3 separate regions of the Homo sapiens genome follow, and all the other regions are linked to region 3. The links are contacts of gene promoters, found by promoter capture Hi-C in blood cells and fetal thymus (Javierre and others, 2016). All regions are on one chromosome and are shown on one strand. The core of a region is centred on a gene start or on the middle of the fragment in contact, and the rest is flanking DNA. Distances in the headings are between cores, read along the strand shown. Region 1 overlaps NUFIP1 (nuclear FMR1 interacting protein 1). Region 2 holds the start of NUFIP1 (nuclear FMR1 interacting protein 1). Region 3 holds the start of SMIM2 (small integral membrane protein 2).

Region 1 (3,103 bases), core at 484-2,983, 810 kb after region 3:
AAAGATCAAGGTCATAGGAGATAAAAATCTGACAGTCAGCAATACATGACTACATTTTTCGAAAGCAAACATAATCTAAGGTTATAAGAAGTAGACTCTGGCACTTGTACGAGTGTGAAATCTTCCTCCAGGATACTCAAAAGCAGTCAGATAATCTCAGGGCACTGTGTCCAGTTCTGTACTTCTAAACTAAAGGAACACTGAGAAGAAAAAAAAAAAAAAAAGACTTGGAAGGGATTCAGAAGAGACTCAAAGATGATTAATAGGATGAAAAATAAAACCTCCAAAGAAAGATGAAAGGAACTATTTGCAACCTTTAAAAGAAGATGAGAAGCGACAATAAAAATAGTTTTACAGAGAGGATGGTCCAGTTGTTCTCAAACTGAAGAGAATATGCAGAAGTAGAAATGAGAAAAACAGTAATGATTTTTACAGGCCTCACAGTGGCGAGACATGTAACTCACAGCTACTCAACACCCTCCACAATTCTCAAATTTACTTATTACTTAAGTTTCTTCAACATTTTTGCAGAGTATTGCAGACTCTTACCATGTTGGGCTATATGTTACATGATAAAATTTGGCACTACAGTGTACTACGTACCAGAGAGCAGATGCTAGGTAACTGCTTTTCATTGGTAAAGAATTTAAACTTGTTATAGCAAGTGGATTTTAGGTAAGATATAAGAAAGAGTTCCCTAAGTGAAACATCAAAGATGTGATGTGTAGAAACTCCTTTGATGGAAGCCTTTTAAAACAGCTAATTTTCTCTTTCAGGCAGACTGCAGTATCATGTTCCTAAAGGTAAAGAAACTTAACTTCCTAAAATTAAATATCATGTTCCTAAAGGTAAGGAAACTTGTCTTCCTAAAATTAAGTATCATGTTCCTAAAAGTAAGATTAGAGTTTTAAAAAGTTGTAAGATTTTATTTTTCTTGGTGCTGAAATCAATAAAATCCTCTTCCAAAATTTATTACATTCTTATTTACACAGAATCCAGATATTTAAAACTAGAGAGAAAAATGGTTGCTAAAAAGCACATTATCGCAAAAAAGAAAAATCAGAAACACAAGACCTAATTACACACATAAACAACAGTAGGAAGCCCCACTCCACCAACATGAAGCTGAGATAAATGAATAACGAAAAAAAAGGAGTTCTGATGAAGGAGTTCAGGTTCCTAAAGTACAAGAAATAACAAATCCAAAGACTATTGAAAAAACATAAATTATGTCTTACATTGCAGTTACATACATGTAAAGCTTAGTCCAATATCTCCTGTTAGAGAATGGATAATATGAAGTTATAAAGACCGTGACAAGGGAAATTTTCACAGTTGGTTTTTCTATATTTTTATCTACTAAAATCATTTTCTCCCTGTACTTCTATCTTTCCTCAGTTCACTAAGAGGAAATGGTCCTGAAACTATGCTCTTTTCCTTCCTCTCTTCTTTCATTTTTTACCTCTTCTTCACCTTCCTCATTGCCTATACCTTATGCCTCCAGTGACAATCTTTAAGCACTACAGAGCCAACACATGGGCAAACCGTCCTAACCATTATCTTAGCACAGACCATTCTGGTCACATTATTCTCTCCAATTTTTTCCTTATGCTCAAATCACGACCCATTTATTGGCTTTTCCCCTCTGCCTGTTCTATAAAACATAGTTACTCTTCCCACTCTCATTAAACCACAACTGCTTCCACACAAGCTACACTATTGTACTTTTCTTTCTGAACATCAAAAAGATACAGCATTCTTTAGAGCAGATCTCCTGTGTTGGAATTCTGCATGAACCAGGGAAACAAAAGGATTTCCTCAGAGCCACAGTAAGCGTTGAAATAAATTGTAAAACTACTCCACCTAGTGGACTCCCAGTCTGCTGTGAAAAATGTTCCACTGTTTCTATAATAAAAGCAAGGTTTTGGAAACAAACCTCTACCACTCATTTTCCCTAAAGCCAAATCATACAGCATTGGTACTACATAGGACAGGAATTAAGAAAGAATAACTTTTTTTGGTGGCTTTTTTGGGGAGGTAGGGGAAAGGCTATTAATGGAAAGCCTTAAAAGTTATTAAATTAAATACACTCGGTACCCCTGAGTCTGACTAACCTGAAAAATACAGAGATGTAGAAGTAAGGACAAAGATGTACTTTTGTCAAAGATAAGGAAGCCATATGCCAAGCAAACCTTCAGTTTTCTTTAAGCTTTAAAATTCTTACTCTGTGAAATCTTTCACAAGCTTTTCCTAACAGAGCAACTACATAAAGACCTTATTTTTCCTGCATGTCAAAGAATATAGTGGCTTCATCGGAAAGAATGTAGCTCTCACACAAAGATCAAATTCATGAAATAAGGACTATTCTGCCACACCAATGTGGAACTTACTCTTTTTAGGAGTTCAAGTAATATTTTTTAAAAATTGAGAATGACAGGAATGTAGAAAGTAAGTATATTTTTGTAACAGGGTTTTTTTGTTTGTTGTTTTTTTATTGAGACAGTCTCACTCTGTTGCCCAGGCTGGAGTACAGTGGCACGACCTTGGCTCACTGCAGTCTCTGCCTTCTGGGTTCAAGCAATTCTCCTGCCTCAGCCTCCCAAGTATCTGGGATTACAGGTGCGTGCCACGATGCCCAGCTAATTTTTTTTATTTTTAGTAGAGATAGGGTTTCGCCATGTTGGCCAGGCTGGTCTCAAACTCCTGACCCCAAGTGATCTGCCTGCCTTGGCCTCCCAAAGGGCTGGGATTACAGGTGTGAGCCACCACGCCCGGCCCATAATAGGTTTTTAAAAAATTGCTAGTGGGGATAGTATTTATGCATTTTTGAGAAATCTATCAAACATACCAAAAGAAAAGCAGTATTTCCCATATCCTCTAATAAAATATACATACAGAAAAAATATATATGAACTCTTCAGAATATATTAAAGAGCAAGAACCTGAGAAACAAACTATGGAAGAACCTCAGATGAACTCACCCAGTGCCCAAAGAATTTTCAGAGCACTTACTAAACAAAGCAACATCACAGGTATAAATAAACTTCATCCAAAATTGCCATCTTCACCCCATTTCCTCATTCTCTTTAAACACCTCTAAATT
Region 2 (3,437 bases), core at 286-2,785, 830 kb after region 3:
AGACTCAGTCCTCTGTAGCCACACTGGTTCCCATTCTGATGTATAGCTTCTAAGCCTCAAGACCTTTGCACTTGCAGTTCCTTCTGCCCGTACCCCTATTCTCCCAGTTGTATGCATGGCTGTGATCTCTCACCTCCCTAAAGTCTTCGCTCATATGTCACCTTCCTTATGACTAACAATGACATTTAAAACTGCACTACCTGGCCCGGCGTGGTGGCTCATGCCTGTAATCCCAACACTTTGGGAGGCTGAGGCGGGCGGATGCCTGAGCTCAGGAGTTAGAGACAGGCCTGTCCAACACGGGGCAACCCCCTTTCTACTAAAAATATAAAAAATTAGCCGGGTGTGGTGGCGTGGGCCTGTAGTCCCAGCTACTCAGGAGTTTGAGGCATGAGAATTGCTTGAACTCGGGAGGCAGAGGTTGCAGTGAGCCTCTCTGCAGAGACTGCATAGGCTGGAGTGAAGTAGATCGCGCTACTCTTCACTCCAGCCTGGGCGACAGAGCGACACTCTGTCTCCAAAAAAAAAGAAAAAAAGAAAATCCTGCACTACTTACCATTCTTCTTTGTTTTATCTCTCTCCATGCCACTCAACCTTCTAATGCACAATATTTTATTTTGCTTATTGTCTGTCTTCCTACACAAGAGAGATAATATTAAGCTCCATAATATTTTTTGTATGTTCTGCTCACTGCTATATACCCAGATTCTGGTACATAGTCGGAATTCAATAAATAACTGCTAAATGGAATTAACAGTCAACAGGAAAACATTCTAGTCAGACATATTTTGAGAACAAAGGATTTACAATATTATATAAACTTAGTTGATAAAGCAGCCTCGACTTCCTGGGTTCAAGGAATCCTCCTGCCTCAGCCTCCCATGCATCTGCGACCACAGGCATGCCACCATGCCTGGCTAATTTTATTTTTTTTGTAGAGACGGGGGTCTCACTTTGCTTTGAGATGCTAATGACCAGACTCCAAGAGTGCAGAGGCAAGGCAGAGTAGAGAGAGGAAGCAGAGAAAGGGGAGAGGAAAGAACGGGGGAAAAAGGTAAAGGGGTCGACTCACGTGGAAAAATAGCCTACCTGCAGGGTTGAAGGACTTCTGATGCCGAGGAAACCTATCAGAAGACTGTCTCCAATACCACGATGTGGAAGCATGGAAATTCCAAGGCTGGCCGCTGGGTTGAGGCTGAGAATCAAGGGGAGACTGGGCGTCGAAGGGGGGTTGCGCCCCGGGAAGAATCTGGGCGTCGAAGGGGGGCGGAGCCCCGGGGAGAGACTGGGCCTCCATGGGGGGCTGCGACTCAGAGGAAGGCTTTGACCCGGCTGCGGGAAGCGAGGACGTAAGTGGTGGTGGCGGTGGCGGCAGCATTGCCCAGAACATCCAGCTGTCCCGCGGCGGGGCAGTGTCGCTCAGGGGCCCTAACGTGGGAGTCAGCTCGGGAGACGCATGCCACCCGATAGGAGTCTCGAAATCACTAGTCGGCTCAGCCATACCACTGGCGGGTCCGGAGTCTAGCACGCGACTGTGGAGCAAGCATTAGGCGTCACTTCCTTTACCGTGAACTACAAGGCTCAGCCAACCACAGGCTTTACGTCATTTCTCGGCGCCGGGAAACCTGCCATTCTTCGCTGCTGATCGCGGGATTCTTTTTGGATAGGGTTGACGTTCGTGGATAGACTCATATCTGTGACCAGTGTCCGCCACCGCGGATGGCAAGAGACCTGATCGGACCGGCCCTGCCGCCCGGCTTCAAGGCCCGCGGAACAGCGGAGGACGAAGAGCGGGACCCGAGCCCTGGTAAGCGGCGGCGTCTCCGCTGCCCACCAGGCCCATCTACCCACTCCCTGGCCGGGCCCTGCTCGCTGAAGAAAGTCGGAGGCCTAGGAGGGCGGAGGAGTGGGGAGTGGGCGCGGCCTGACCCGAGAGAACTTTTCTCTTCCCAAACAGTAGCAGGGGGGAGGAGGCTGGGGGACCCTCCTAGAAACGAGCTTTGGCGTGGTTTGGCTTCGTGATGATAATACATTCTCATTTAGCCTTAATATGAGCTGCACGCTGCCCTAACTGACTGATACCCACTCAGTCATTTAAGCCGTATAAGAAAAAAACTATTTTCCCATGTTGCAAATGGGTACGCCCAAGCCCATGCCAGTGTCTAGATCATACTGCTAGCAAGTGATGGAGCGCGACTTAGAAGGAAGCGGTTCTCTTAACCTCTGTGCCATATTGCCTTCTGATTACAAGAACCTTGCAGATCCTGTTCTCTCCAGCCCCCGACCTGCCTTCCTAGCCTCTCATTCTGTTATTGCATCTGACAAACACAGCCCAATACTCAATCCAGTCTGAGTTGCTGCGCAATTCCTTAACGCTCTAGGCTTCTGGGCTTCCTCTGGTTGCATTCCTAAACATAACTGACAAACTTCTCCCCATCCTTCAAGGCCCAACTTAAATGTCACACCAATAAAACCTTTCCAGATTCCCCGAAGCATTGTCATGCCTTTCTTTTTGCCCTCGGGTTTTTTCCTAATTACATTGCATATTTAGTACACTGTATTTGAATAATTTGTCGACATAATCTGTCTCCACCATTGCACTATGGTCTTCTACCTGAACACGCAACAGGCACTTGGTATATACGAAACGAATGCTTCTCGGATTCCGGCATGCATACCTATCTGCTTTAATGTTTATTCACATTTGTAGACTAGCACCGACACCCAGTTGGAGAAGAGTAAAGCTGAAAGAGTAACCCTGCCATTTCTGAATCTAATTTTTCTTCCTGGTCTACCCGGAGGCTATGTTTCTACTACAGGCCCCTTTCCAATATAATTTCTGTCATAACCACTTTAAAAATTATGCCTTCCAGCTGAGCGAGGTGGCACAAGCCTGTAATCTCAGCACTTTGAGAGGCTGAGACGGGGCGGATCACTTGAACTCAGGAGTTCAAGACCAGCCTGGCCAACATGTTGAAACCCCATCTCTACTAAAAATACAAAAATTAGCCGGGCGTGGTGGCGGGCGCCTGTAATCCCAGCTGCTCTGGAGGCTGAGGCAGGAGAATCGCTTGAACCCAGGAGGCGGAGGTTGCAGTGAGCCGAGAGTGCCACTGCGCTCCAGCCTGGGCGACGGAACGAGAGTTTGTCTCAATAAATAAATAAATAAAAGTAAATGTGAAAAATTATGCTTTCCTTCCTGTAGGAGATAGCTTTAAAAAAATAAAATAAGGCCAGGTGCGGTGGCTCACGCCTGTGAACCCAGCGCTTTGGGAGGCCGAGGCGGGCGGATCACGAGGTCGAGAGATCGAGACCATTCTGGCCAACATGGTGAAACCCTGTCTCTACTAAAAATACAAAAATTAGCCAGGCATGGTGGCACGTACCTGTAGTCCCAGCTACTTGGGAGGCTGAGGCAGGAGAATTGCTTGAACCTG
Region 3 (3,115 bases), core at 215-2,714:
ACTCATGGAAGACTCACGTATACTAATGCCGACTATTTACGCAAGCACATTTCTCCAGGTGGCCTGGAGCAGTTTACAAGATGCTGGCTCATTCCTCATCATGCCACTTGGAAGGAGAGCAAAAGGTGGGGAAAGAGGAAGGGCCAACATCATCATCTGCATTTTATGTGGGGAAACTGAGGCTCACATAAGCCGTAAAGTGAAATGTATAGACATTTATGAGTCAGAAATCGACCATGGAAGAGGCAAAATGAGCTTATCTGAATCATGAGTGGACTATTTCTTGCCCAACAATTTCATGCAGCTCTTCCAACACAACTGTTTTGATACAGCAGCCTCAAAACAAGCCAAAATTCAGACTCGCTGTATTTGGTTTATAACCAGTTTCCCATCTTTCATTCCTTCTCTGACTTCTACCTGACTTCTGAATTTGGTTGACCCTGTTTTTTTGTTTGTTTGTTTGTTTTGTTTTACTTTAAAAGACCCTCAACCCTCCTGGAGTCCTGACCTGCTATTTCTTTCATTTTGAACCTCTACCAGTCCTTTCCTTCATCTGTTACCAATCCATACACCCTTGATGCCTGGAGGTAAGATTGACAATGGAGGGGGGGAGGTGAAGATCAAGGTTGAGGTGAAGCTCACAGATGGCCTGCAAGATGCCTATTTTACTCATCATTTATTTTTTAAAAAGCTGAACATTTATCGGCTGAATCTTTGAGCCATACCAAAATATCCTCATGTCAAAATAGCTGCAGTAAAGTGGTTCTATTAAAATAGCTGCCTCCAAAGAACTGAGAGTGGAGATGTCACCTGCTTCTGGCACCTGACTTTGGTCCTCTTCTGCGTGGCATTGCCTTCTGCTCTGCTGGATTCTGGCGTATGGCTCATCAGAGGAGGCACTAACATCAGGGCTGCCTTTTATCTTGCTGATCCAAGCGAGGACTATGTAGGTGTCACAGATGAAACTCGTCCAGAAGCCGAACAGGATGCTAATGGCATGGCCACGTGTTTCCAGCACCCTGTGAGGCAGCTGGCTGGCATCAATCCTCTCCCCAGCTTCCATCCCACCCCCATCCACCCATAAGCTCTTCTTGGGTCAGAAATGCAATTCTTTGATGGTGCCAGACAGCCAGATGATGCTGGAAAGAAGAAAGAAAAAGAAAAAGCAGGTTTCTAAATTAAGCACAAGGCTCGTTTATAAAAATAAATAGCCACAGCCTAGCAACGTGCTCACAGCTCAGCTTTCCTCCGTAATAAAACCTCTGTGGCTGAAGCCTGGGATGACACAGCCTTCAGAGGGCCCCACGCCCTGGCCCTCCTCATGCCCTGGCCTCTCCCAGGATAATACTCACCTGGAGAGTGCTGACAGTGGTACTTTTGGGGCCCCACTCTTCATTCAAGGCCAACCAAAGGCCAGGCTCCAAAAAGCAGAAGGAAGGCAGAGCTTAATGAGGCCCATGAACACTTACAGACTCTTGGCAGTAACTAATACACCTGTAGCAAAAGTGGTTGAAGTTCCTTGGGCTACTCTGTTGAAATAGGAACTTCTAGTTAAGACCATGTCTTCTTTGTTCACCATTGAACAGTACTCAGCTAAGCACAGGGCACGTATTGAGTACTCAACCAGTATGTGAGGAAAGACTGGTTAGAGGTATAAATGAATGAATGAATGTTGCCATCCCATTATTGATGCTCTCCAAACTCTTCACTACAAATGGAGTCAGTTCCAGAATCCAAAGCCAGCATTCTTCTCCTGATTATGACATGCACCAAAGAGGCATCCCCTGAGCTGGATGTTTAAATCAGAGCCCACAGCTGAAGTGAGCACCAAGATGTACTGAGCAAGTGTGGACTCTTACTGATCCAAGTGGTGAGGCTCTTACAATGGGCAAGGGCAGAGGGCATGCGATATGTAGGTAACTATTGTTAGCATTCCTGAATCTTCTCCTGTTCTTTAGGCAGCAGCAGCTTCAAGGGTGAACTGTTGCTCAGCAGAGAAATGGCAGGAAAAAATAGGACATTCGCTTCTGGCCTTAGTCCTGTTGGAACACAAAAAGTGGAGTCTGCAATGCTGTTGGAGGCTCAACAGGTCAAATACATCAGTAATGGGCATGGTATGGCTGGGGTCATACGGAGACAGTCCTTAGAGCACTGAAAATGTGATCATCCTGAATCCCATAAGGATCCTTATGAGGTTAGAAGGGACAATGTGGCTCCACTTTGATGACTGACAGCAGTTGCTTTGGTGAGTTTCTACGTATTCCCTTGTGATCAGAGAGTGGTACAGGACAGCATGTCAAAATCGTAAACCACCATCTCAGAGCAAGGCCCCTTAGTTACAATATTAAAAAGATCAGAGAAATTGGCACATAGCATCATTTAGAAATCTGTCTTCAGGCATCTTTGTCTGGCCTGGCTGGAAATAGTAAAACCATATTTATGTCATTGAGAAAAAGGTTCTTAATTAAATTCAAATGTATAAGAATATATCGTAGGTCTATTTTTGGAACAATAATCTGGGAACAAAAAAAAATCTAAACAGCAACAAAACTTGTACAATAGCATTTAGCTTCAGACAGCAGCATACAATAGAGAAGAAGGAGTCCTCATAGACTCTGGACTCTTAGATTGATTCAATCCCACAAGCTAGAGCACCAAAGTCATGGCACTGGGACATTTAGGAAGAGGAACTCTAGCAGTGACCTGATTAGGAGACAGCTCCAGCAGAGAGTCAGCACATAGACTGGCCAAGCTGCCCCCAGATCTTTGGTGATATCTCTTTGGTGGAGATAAAGGAAGCCCTTTCCAAAGCAGACCAATTATGGCATCCACAACCATAGTCCCTGCTCCAGCCTAGTGAGGACACAGTATGTTCCATAAGTCCCTAAGGCTCTATGCCCAGGGCTCCCACTTCTGACACGGCTGCTCAAGGATAAGACCCCACTGACCCCATTCTCTATGGAGGGTACAGAAATCCATAAGAACAGAGCCCAATACTCAGCTCTGTGACCTTAACTACTTGGAAACTGATTTTCTTTGTTCATAAAATAGAGAGAGTAAAAATAATGCTTTCTATCTCCCAAGAGTGTACGAGGATCAAATGAAACACTATTAT

What was found. The method cuts DNA at HindIII sites, captures the fragments that hold promoters and counts their contacts. A CHiCAGO score of 5 or more calls a contact.
Region 1: a fragment that was not itself captured here is called in contact with the fragment with the promoter of SMIM2 in region 3 in 1 of 17 cell types (M2 macrophages); the score reaches 5.6 in M2 macrophages.
Region 2: a contact is called between the fragment with the promoter of NUFIP1 here and the fragment with the promoter of SMIM2 in region 3, in 10 of 17 cell types (activated CD4 T cells, M0 macrophages, M2 macrophages and 7 more). The highest score is 9.2, in activated CD4 T cells.

The regions. Positions count from the first base shown.
Region 1 is chr13:44,968,199-44,971,301 of GRCh38, forward strand. The region is part of intron 5 of NUFIP1 (nuclear FMR1 interacting protein 1); the gene reads right to left. Among named protein-coding and RNA genes, the nearest start is that of NUFIP1, 20 kb to the right of the region's middle. The HindIII fragment of the contact is 948 bases long and covers 1,260-2,207 here.
Region 2 is chr13:44,987,936-44,991,372 of GRCh38, forward strand. It overlaps NUFIP1 (nuclear FMR1 interacting protein 1), which reads right to left and starts at 1,536. Exons shown (of 10, transcript NM_012345.3): 1 at 1,090-1,536. The coding sequence starts at 1,501. It overlaps GPALPP1 (GPALPP motifs containing 1), which reads left to right and starts at 1,603. Exons shown (of 8, transcript NM_018559.5): 1 at 1,603-1,807. The coding sequence starts at 1,720. RefSeq lists enhancers at 1,074-1,712, 1,337-1,406, 1,597-1,786, 1,713-2,349. The HindIII fragment of the contact is 7,208 bases long and covers 1-3,437 here.
Region 3 is chr13:44,159,793-44,162,907 of GRCh38, forward strand. It overlaps SMIM2 (small integral membrane protein 2), which reads right to left and starts at 1,465. Exons shown (of 3, transcript NR_197392.1): 1 at 1,353-1,465; 2 at 811-1,139. RefSeq lists an enhancer at 1-596. The HindIII fragment of the contact is 6,510 bases long and covers 1-3,115 here.